Regions from separate parts of the Homo sapiens genome. Here region 2 is linked to region 1. The links are contacts of gene promoters, found by promoter capture Hi-C in human tissues and cell types (Jung and others, 2019). All regions are on one chromosome and are shown on one strand. The core of a region is centred on a gene start or on the middle of the fragment in contact, and the rest is flanking DNA. Distances in the headings are between cores, read along the strand shown. Region 1 holds the start of SDAD1 (SDA1 domain containing 1). Region 2 overlaps SCARB2 (scavenger receptor class B member 2).

Evidence for each region. Contacts are between HindIII fragments. The study calls those that stand out against the background at their distance.
Region 2: a fragment that was not itself captured here is called in contact with the fragment with the promoter of SDAD1 in region 1 in 1 of the 25 tissues and cell types used here (hippocampus).

What each region holds. Positions count from the first base shown.
Region 1 is chr4:75,988,122-75,992,334 of GRCh38, reverse strand. It overlaps SDAD1 (SDA1 domain containing 1), which reads left to right and starts at 1,390. Exons shown (of 22, transcript NM_018115.4): 1 at 1,390-1,583. The coding sequence starts at 1,494. The region is part of intron 1 of SDAD1-AS1 (SDAD1 antisense RNA 1); the gene reads right to left. The HindIII fragment of the contact is 8,316 bases long and covers 1-4,213 here.
Region 2 is chr4:76,193,257-76,197,332 of GRCh38, reverse strand. It overlaps SCARB2 (scavenger receptor class B member 2), which reads left to right. Exons shown (of 12, transcript NM_005506.4): 2 at 1,469-1,626. Among named protein-coding and RNA genes, the nearest start is that of SCARB2, 19 kb to the left of the region's middle. RefSeq lists a silencer at 1,756-1,815. The HindIII fragment of the contact is 7,495 bases long and covers 1-4,076 here.

The DNA of each region.
Region 1 (4,213 bases), core at 141-2,640:
AAAGCAGCTGAATAACATGGTTTGTGAAGCATTCTTTATTTTGTGTGCAGGTGTGATTACAGAGTTGTTTTGTTTGGGGCTCATTTTATCATCGTCACAGATGAGGTTGGCGTTCTATAAAATTGCTTTGGTTAAGCAGAACCCTATTGTCTGGCTATTTTGCCAGACCAGCAACCAGCTACCAGCTGTTAGGCTATGTTTTTTCTCATGTAGTTACAATCAAGACTGTCTAGATTGAAATCTCATCTTCCTCACAGGCTATGAATTGAGGCAGTCAACTTCCCTGAGCTTGTTTCCTCTTCTGTAAAATGTAGATAACAATAGCACCTATTTTAGAGGGTTGTTCTGAGGATTAAATAAGTTAATACAAGTGCTTGGAATAGTGCCTGGCACAGGGTGGGTAATTAGGTTTTTTTTTCTCTCTCTCTAATTCACAACACCCTACCTCATTCATTCAACCCTTATTGATTTTTTACACCTTGAGATTGTAGAAATGTATTCTCCTCTTCGAATTACCAGGATCTGAATTAAAAACTCTGACTGAGGAGTGCTTACAAAGCTTATAACGATGGTTGAATTTTAACGATTAATTGCATTTATTAATGGTCAACATGATCACATTTTATCCAGCCCTCTTTTCCCTTGTATGGGTCACGCTAAGTTGAAACAACCAAAACCAAAATAAAAACATATCTAAAATCATACACATTAACTTATATGACCCTCGTTGCTCTTTTTTCCTCCTAAGAGGGAATAGTGTTATCTAGCGCCACGGTTCTTTTCAGTTTTGTTTTGTTTTGTTTTGTTTTTTATACGGAGTTTCGCTCTTGTTGCCCAGGCTGGAGTGAAATGGTGCAATCTCGGCTTACCGCAATCTCCGCCTCCTGTGTTCAAGCGATTCTCCTGCCTCAGCCTCCCTAGTAGCTGGGATTACAGGCATGCGCCACCACGCTCGACTAATTTTGTAATTTTAGTAGAGACGGGGTTTCTCCATGTGGATCAGGCCGGTCTCGAACTCCCGACCTCAGGCCCGCCTTGGCCTCCCAAAGTGCTGGGATTACAGGCGTCAGTTTCTAATTTTAGACTGCGGGATTAAAAATAAACGATTAATCCTCATTTATGTGCTTCATATGGGTGTCGGAATGACGATACATGCTAACACACGTGAAAAAATTTACATTTCAGATCCTTTCAGAAACGCAAGGCAATATTAAGTAGTAGCATATGCCCAAGGGCGAGGGGCGGGTCGGCGGTGGCTGGCTCTCCAATACACCACAGAGTATTTTGGCAACGAGAGTAATTTTGACACTCTGAGGCTTCCGTAGCATAGCTCGCTTTAGGAACCGCTAAGGTGTCGCCTGCCTAGAGTCCCATGCGCTATTTCCGGTCATACCCGGAAACACGAGTCCAAGCTGCAGCTGGCAGGGATTGCGGGGTGCCGGCCGTCTGAGTTTTTTTAAAACTGCTCGCCGCGAAGTCTGTCTGCAGCCAAAATGTCCAACAGAAACAACAACAAGCTTCCCAGCAACCTGCCGCAGTTACAGAATCTAATCAAGCGAGACCCGCCGGCCTACATCGAGGAGGTGGGAGTGCGGCGCGGCAGACGCTAGAGGCCGGATAGTGGATGGTTGAGACGCCGGTGCGGGAAAGCATGGAGTGGGGCTGGGATCCAGGCTCGCCGCCTATTCTTCTGTTAGGTTCAGGGGTCCCTCCAGAGGAGAGAAGGGGTTGGGGACGGGACATGCCTTAGGGTTCGTTCCCCACCTCTTGAAAATCTGTTGCCCCTTTGGATTTTCTACCTGCCCTGCTGCCGCTGAAACACCTTTAAAACCTCATTTTGTTTTAAGATATTTTTCTTCGTCCGCACGGAAGTGGAGAGAGAAATGGGCCGCACCCAACCACCAACTTCCACGCGGATTTCTCAGCCTCTTTTCAGAAATCCCAAACTTGAATTAGTCGGTAACCTTTGATGAATCGTATGTTAGAATGCTTTCGATTGACGTCCGTTTCTGAGAGCAGGCTGTGTACCCTGGACTGTGCCAGGAAAGGGGGGGGGGGGGTTTCTCAAGCACAACGGACAGACTCGGGAGCTTAGTATATTTAGTTAAGCCAGGATTCAAACTTACCGGAGACTGGCATGACTCGGATGTCAGAATTTGCTTCGGGAAAAGATTAGGTTGAAAAATTAGGCCCTCATTGTGATGGGCTTTGTGTACTGACCTCATGTAAGTTGTGAACATTAGGGGTGTTTGAACCAAGTACCGACAAAACGAAAGTGGTTTTTGATATATTAATCTGACAGGTGCTTCCTTCAGACACTCATTTATCAGACGGGCATTAAACAGGTATCTCTGCTAGGCATTTGCTGCAATTACATGTTTGTGCTTCTACCAGATTGTGATTTGTTCAGTGGCTAACACAATTACTTATTTTTTCATTGCCCTTCTCACTTCCCTCCTCCCCTAAATTTTCACATATATGTATTTTATGAGTGCTTTTTAACACATGGCAATCTCAGTGGCTTAGGTCACCAGTAGAGAAAGCCTCTCCAAGGATCAAGGTAGTGGAAATAAAGAGTAGGAAACAAGTACAAGAAGTTAAGTAACATAGGCAAGGCTTTGAGATGCTTAAAGCATTGTATAGCCATTCGCAAAGAAAGTGGTAAGTTGAGAGTCTATATAATTCCGTTAGATAACTCCTGCTGCTGACTGTTGTTAACCAGTTGTGTAACCGAAGCAGGTTAATCGCTGAGCCTATGTGGGTATTTTAATATGTAAGAAGGGGGTAATAACTACTTCTTTAATTCACTTAAGTATATATGCAAAATCACATATAACTACTGTGTGTTGTTATTCTAGGTAGGCGTTGGGGTACAGTAATGAATAAGACAGATAAGAAAGCATTCTTCTCTTGGACTTACATTCAAGTGAGTGTAGACTTATTATGGTAGAGATTATGAAGAAAATAAAACTGGATGGGAATAGGTTAGAATTGGAGGCTTCTGATTTAGACCCCGTAAACAGGGAAGGTGGCTCTGCAATGATGATATTGAGCCAGGCAGGTAAACATCATTTTAGGTACAAGGAATAGAAAGTGCAGAAGCTACTGGTGGAAAAAAAGCAGAGAAGAAGCCAGTGTAGCTAAAGTGTAGTCAGCATAGAAGAGGGCAGTGGAAGATGATGTAGGAAATGCAGGCAGGGGTCAGCTTATTCAGAGCCTCTTAGGCCCTGTTAACGAGTTTAGATTTCACTCTGAGTGCCTCGGGGAGTGATTGAAGAGTTTTAAGCAGGAGAGTGACATGATCTGACATATTTTTTTTAAGAATTTACTCTGGAAGTTACATGTGGAATGGCTTGTAGAGGAGCAACACTGGAAGCAGGGTAACTAATATAATGGATCTCAGAATAACCAAGCAAGGGATTGTGGTGTCATTGGAATTATGGGCAAAGATTCGTGCTGTTCTACGTGGAGGTAGAGCTAGTAGAGCCTTGGGATTTCTGGTGGAGTGGATGTGGGGGATAAGGAAAAAAGAAGGAATGAAGGATCACCCAGGTTTTTTATTTATATGTCTAGGTAGATGATAGTGCCATTTCCTGAAGTTCGTTCATTTGACAAATACTGTTGATTACCTGCTATATGTAAGGCACAATGCTGGGCCCTGGGACTACATAATATTGAGCTGTACCGATAAAAATTCTATGCTCATTAAATGACATTCTAGTAGGGGGTGATATACAGTAACAAATAATATAGTATGTTAAATAATGAAAAGTGCTGTGAAAAAAAGACAATAGGAAAGTACTTATGTATGTTGGGGGTGAGATGGGTATTGCAGTTTTAAATTGGATAGTTAGGGAAGGTCTTCTTGAGATAGTAATCTTTGAGTGAAAACCTGAAGGACATGAGGGAGAGCTGTGCATATGTTTAGGAAGAATGATCTAGGCAGAAGGAACAGAAGGTATAAAGACCTTGGGGTAGGTATGCCTGGTAGATTTCAGGAACATAAAGGCCAGTGTGGCTCCAAATAGGGAATGAGGAAAGGGGGTGAATTTGGGATTCTACCTCCCAATGAGATGGAAGCCTTTACAGGGTTTTGAGCAGAAGAATACATGAACCACCCTATATGAGAACAAGATCACCGTTACTTGAGGATAGACTGTATGTAGGAGGGCAAAGATAGAAGCAGAGACACCACATAAGAAGCTATTGGAAT
Region 2 (4,076 bases), core at 1,412-3,911, 200 kb before region 1:
CTTAGCTCCAAATTGATACATTGCCATTCCACCCACATCCTGTTGGTCAAATCTAGTCACTTGGCCTAGCCTGAAGTCAGTGAGGCAGGGAGAATACTTCACCCTTAGGGGAGTCATGGTGTATTAATTTGCTAGGGCTTCCCGAATGAATACAACAGACTGGGTGGCTTAAGCAACAGAAATTTGTCTCATAGTTCTGGATGCTAGAAGTCTGAGATCAAGGTATTGGCAGAGTTGGTTTCTTCTGAGGCCTGTCTTCTTGGCTTGTAGAGGGCTGTCAGTTCTGCGTGTTTTCACGTGGCCTTCCCTCTGTGCTTGTCTGTGTCCCAGTTTCCTCCTCCAGTTAGGACACCGGTCCTATTAGCAGGGCCTACCCTCATGACCTCATTTAACCTTCATCAGCTCTTTAAAGACCCCGACTCCAAATACAGGCACATTGTGAGGTATTGGGGGTTAGGACTTCAGCTTAGGAATTTAGAGTATGGGGGGCATTATTCATCCTGTAACACAGAACAGGGGTGGAAAGTGCAGGAGGGATTGTGTGCAGAGTGCAGTCTCCATTGTCAGCTAACCTCAGTGAGGCTAGGCCTCCTGGTTTTTGAAACGGGGATAGGCAGTTCCATTTTAGGGTTTTTGGGGATCCAATAAGAAAATACATTTAAAGCCCCTGGTGGTGGAGGCGGTAGGGATGGATGTGGTTTGACTTGAAAAAGGACCAAAACTGGCCTTCTTGGGCCCTTCCCCTTGTTATTCTCTCATCTGGGCAAACTGGGAGTGTATGGTGCTTTTCAGAATTGCTTAACTTCTACAGAAGATACACCATCCATGGAATCTTCAAAAATAACAAAGCCAGCAGGCCCTTTAGGCACTCAATCTGTGCCCTAGGTTTTGGAAACACTATGCTTCATGCTTCTGCCCAAGTGCTGTCTTTAGTACCCTTCCTTTACAATTATTAATTAATTAACTAGTTAATTTATTTTGAGACAGAGTCTTGCTCTGTAACCCAGGCTGGAGTGCAGTGGCACGATCTTGGCTCACTGCAACCTCCACCTCCCAGGTTCAAGCAAGTCTACTGCCTCAGCCTCCCGACTAGCCAGGATTACAGGCACGCACCACCACACCTGGCTGATTTTTGTATTTTTAGTAGAGACGGGGTTTCACCATGTTGACCAAGCACGAACTCTTGACCTCAAGTGATCTGCCCGCCTTGGCCTCCCAGAGTGTTGGGCCACTGGGCCCGGCCCCTTTACAAATATTTATCGAAGGCCTTCTCTGACTTATTAGAACTGTGGGCTCTATTGGTGTAAGATATGGCCCTGTTCTCAGGAGACTGCAGTTGAATGCCTGTGAAATGATTAAAATAGTGATCTAGGAGGTCAGAATAGGGGGCGTCCCTTCCTCTGCTTCTTGGGTTTAAAGCCAACTATTGCCTTACATTTTTGTAAATCTCCTTTTGGTTTTTTCCTAGAAAATTGTGTTAAGGAATGGTACTGAGGCATTTGACTCCTGGGAGAAGCCCCCTCTGCCTGTGTATACTCAGTTCTATTTCTTCAATGTCACCAATCCAGAGGAGATCCTCAGAGGGGAGACCCCTCGGGTGGAAGAAGTGGGGCCATACACCTACAGGTAAGTCTTGACCACCTCCTGTCTTGAAAGAAATACAGAGTGACCCCAATATGGCCTGAGTCCTTGCCTCTTCCCAGGAGCAAGGCTCCAGGGCTGTGTGGGAGCACACTTTCTGATTTCATTGTCTGAAACGCTGCTGATGTTTTGTATGTGTGTGTGAAACCTCAGCAGAGAATGGCTTTGTAGACTGGGCCAAGTCTCAGCGTGTTGTGTTTTGAAGTGCAGCGGTTTCCTCCTGAGTTGGCAGACTGTGATTATTAAACCATGAAGGGTTACTCCTTACCCTGACCCTTTTAAGGTTGCCCCTTGATATTCTTATTTTATTTTATTTTATTTTTTTAAGAGACAAGGTCTGGCTTTGTTGCCCAGGCTGGAGTGCAGTAGAGCAGTCATAGCTCACTGCCACCTCCAACTCCTGGGCTCAAGTGATCCTCCTGCCTCAACCTCCCTAGTAGCTGGGATTGCAAGTGTTCACCACCACACCCAGATAATTTTTTTTGTAGAGATGAGGTCTTGCTATATTGCCCAGGCTGGTCTTGAACTCCTGGGCTCAGGTGATTCTCCCGCCTCAGCCTCCCACAGTGTTGGGATTACAGGCGTGAGCACCACCATGCCTGGCTACTGCTTGATATTCTTAAGTGACTTTTAGGGCCTCCCTCCATTTCCATTCCCCACATAACTAGTTTTAAAGCAGTTCCAGAATTTACTTTTGTCTGAGACAGATCTTTCTGTTTCTTACCCGCTCCTTTTCTCCACCTATCCTGCGTATAAGCAATAAGCAAGTAGCAGAGGCTGTTAGAGTCTTTGCTGGTGACCACCAATTCCAAACACTGGGGAATCAGGATCCCTTTAATCATTTTTAAACGATTAGTAGAGGGAGACGCTTGAATCAGAGCATTTTCTCTGTTGCAATGTTCCCCTTTTCCCTATTACAATACCTCCTCCCTCTCCCATACAATAATCTTTCCAATAAAGTCTCTCCTTACCAGGTTAGAAAACAAATTAATAGAGGAAGCAGACAACAAGATCTTTCTTTTTCAAAACTGCTGAATGATAAAAATGCCTGACAATTCTGTTGTAATCGATTGCTCAATAAATTATTGCTGACTGATTCATGTGCTATGAATCAGTACTATTCTCAGTGGTGGGAATTCAGAGATAAAAATCCTAGTTCCTGCCTTGGGTGCTCATGCTCTGACTCTGGAGTCAGATGACCCATTTTGATTCCCGCCTCTGCAACTTACTAGTTCTCTGTGCTTCCATTTCCTTATCTATAAAATGGGGATAAAAATAGGACCTCCTCCACATGGTTTTTACAAAGATTGAGTCAATGAGTCATGTATAAAGTGCTTAGACTAGTGCCTAGCACATAATTAGTGATACTTAAGTGTTTGCTCTTACTATTAGTTGGATTAGGCTATTTTTGCATTGCTATGAAGAAATACCTGAGACTGGGTAATTTATAAAGAAAAGAGGTTTAATTGGCTCATGGTTCTGCAGGCTGTACACACATGGCACACTGGCTCTGCTCGGCTTCTGGGGAAGCCTCAAGGAGCTTTTACTCATGGCAGAAGGCAAAGCAGGAGCAGGCACGTTACATGGTGAAAGCAGGAGCAAGGGGTGAGGAGGTGCCACACTTTTACAACAACAAGATCTCGTGAGAAGTCACCCACTGTTGTGAGGACAGCACCAAACCTTGAGGGATCCTCCCCTATGACCCAAACAGCTCCCACCTGGCCCTACCTCCAACACTGAAGATTACAGTTCAACATGAGATTTGGAGGGGACATCCAAACTATATCATTCCACCCCTGGCCTCCAAATTTCATGTCCTTCTCACATGTTAAAATATAATCATCCCTTCTCAATAGTCCCCCAAAGTCTTAACTCATTCCAGCATTAACTCAAAAGTCCTAAGTCCCAGGTCTCATCTAGAAATGAATTCCTTCTACCTATAAGCCTGTAAAATCAAACAAGTTATTTCCTTTCAAGATACAATGGGTGTATCAGCATTGGGCAAACATTCCCATTTGAGAAGGGAGAAATTGGCCATAAGAAAGGGGCTACAGGCCCCAAGCAAGTCTGAAACCCAACAGGGCAGTTATTAAATCATAAAGCTCCAAAATCATCTTCTTTGACTCCGTGTCTCACATCCAGAGCACACTGGTGCAAGGGGTGGGCTCCCAAGGCCTTAGGCAGCTCCGCCTCAGTAGCTTTTTTATGCTGAGATTGCAAGCTGATGGTGGCTCTACCATTCTGGTGTCTCAAGGACGGTGGCCTTCTTCCCACAGCTCCACTAGGCAGTGCCTCAGTGGGGACTCTTTGTGGAGCCTTCAGCTCCGCATTTCCCCTCCTCACTGCCCTAGTAGAGTTTCTCTTGAGGGCTCTGCCCTTGGAGCAGGCTTCTGCTGGGGCACTTAGGCTTTCTCATACATCATCTGAAATCTAGG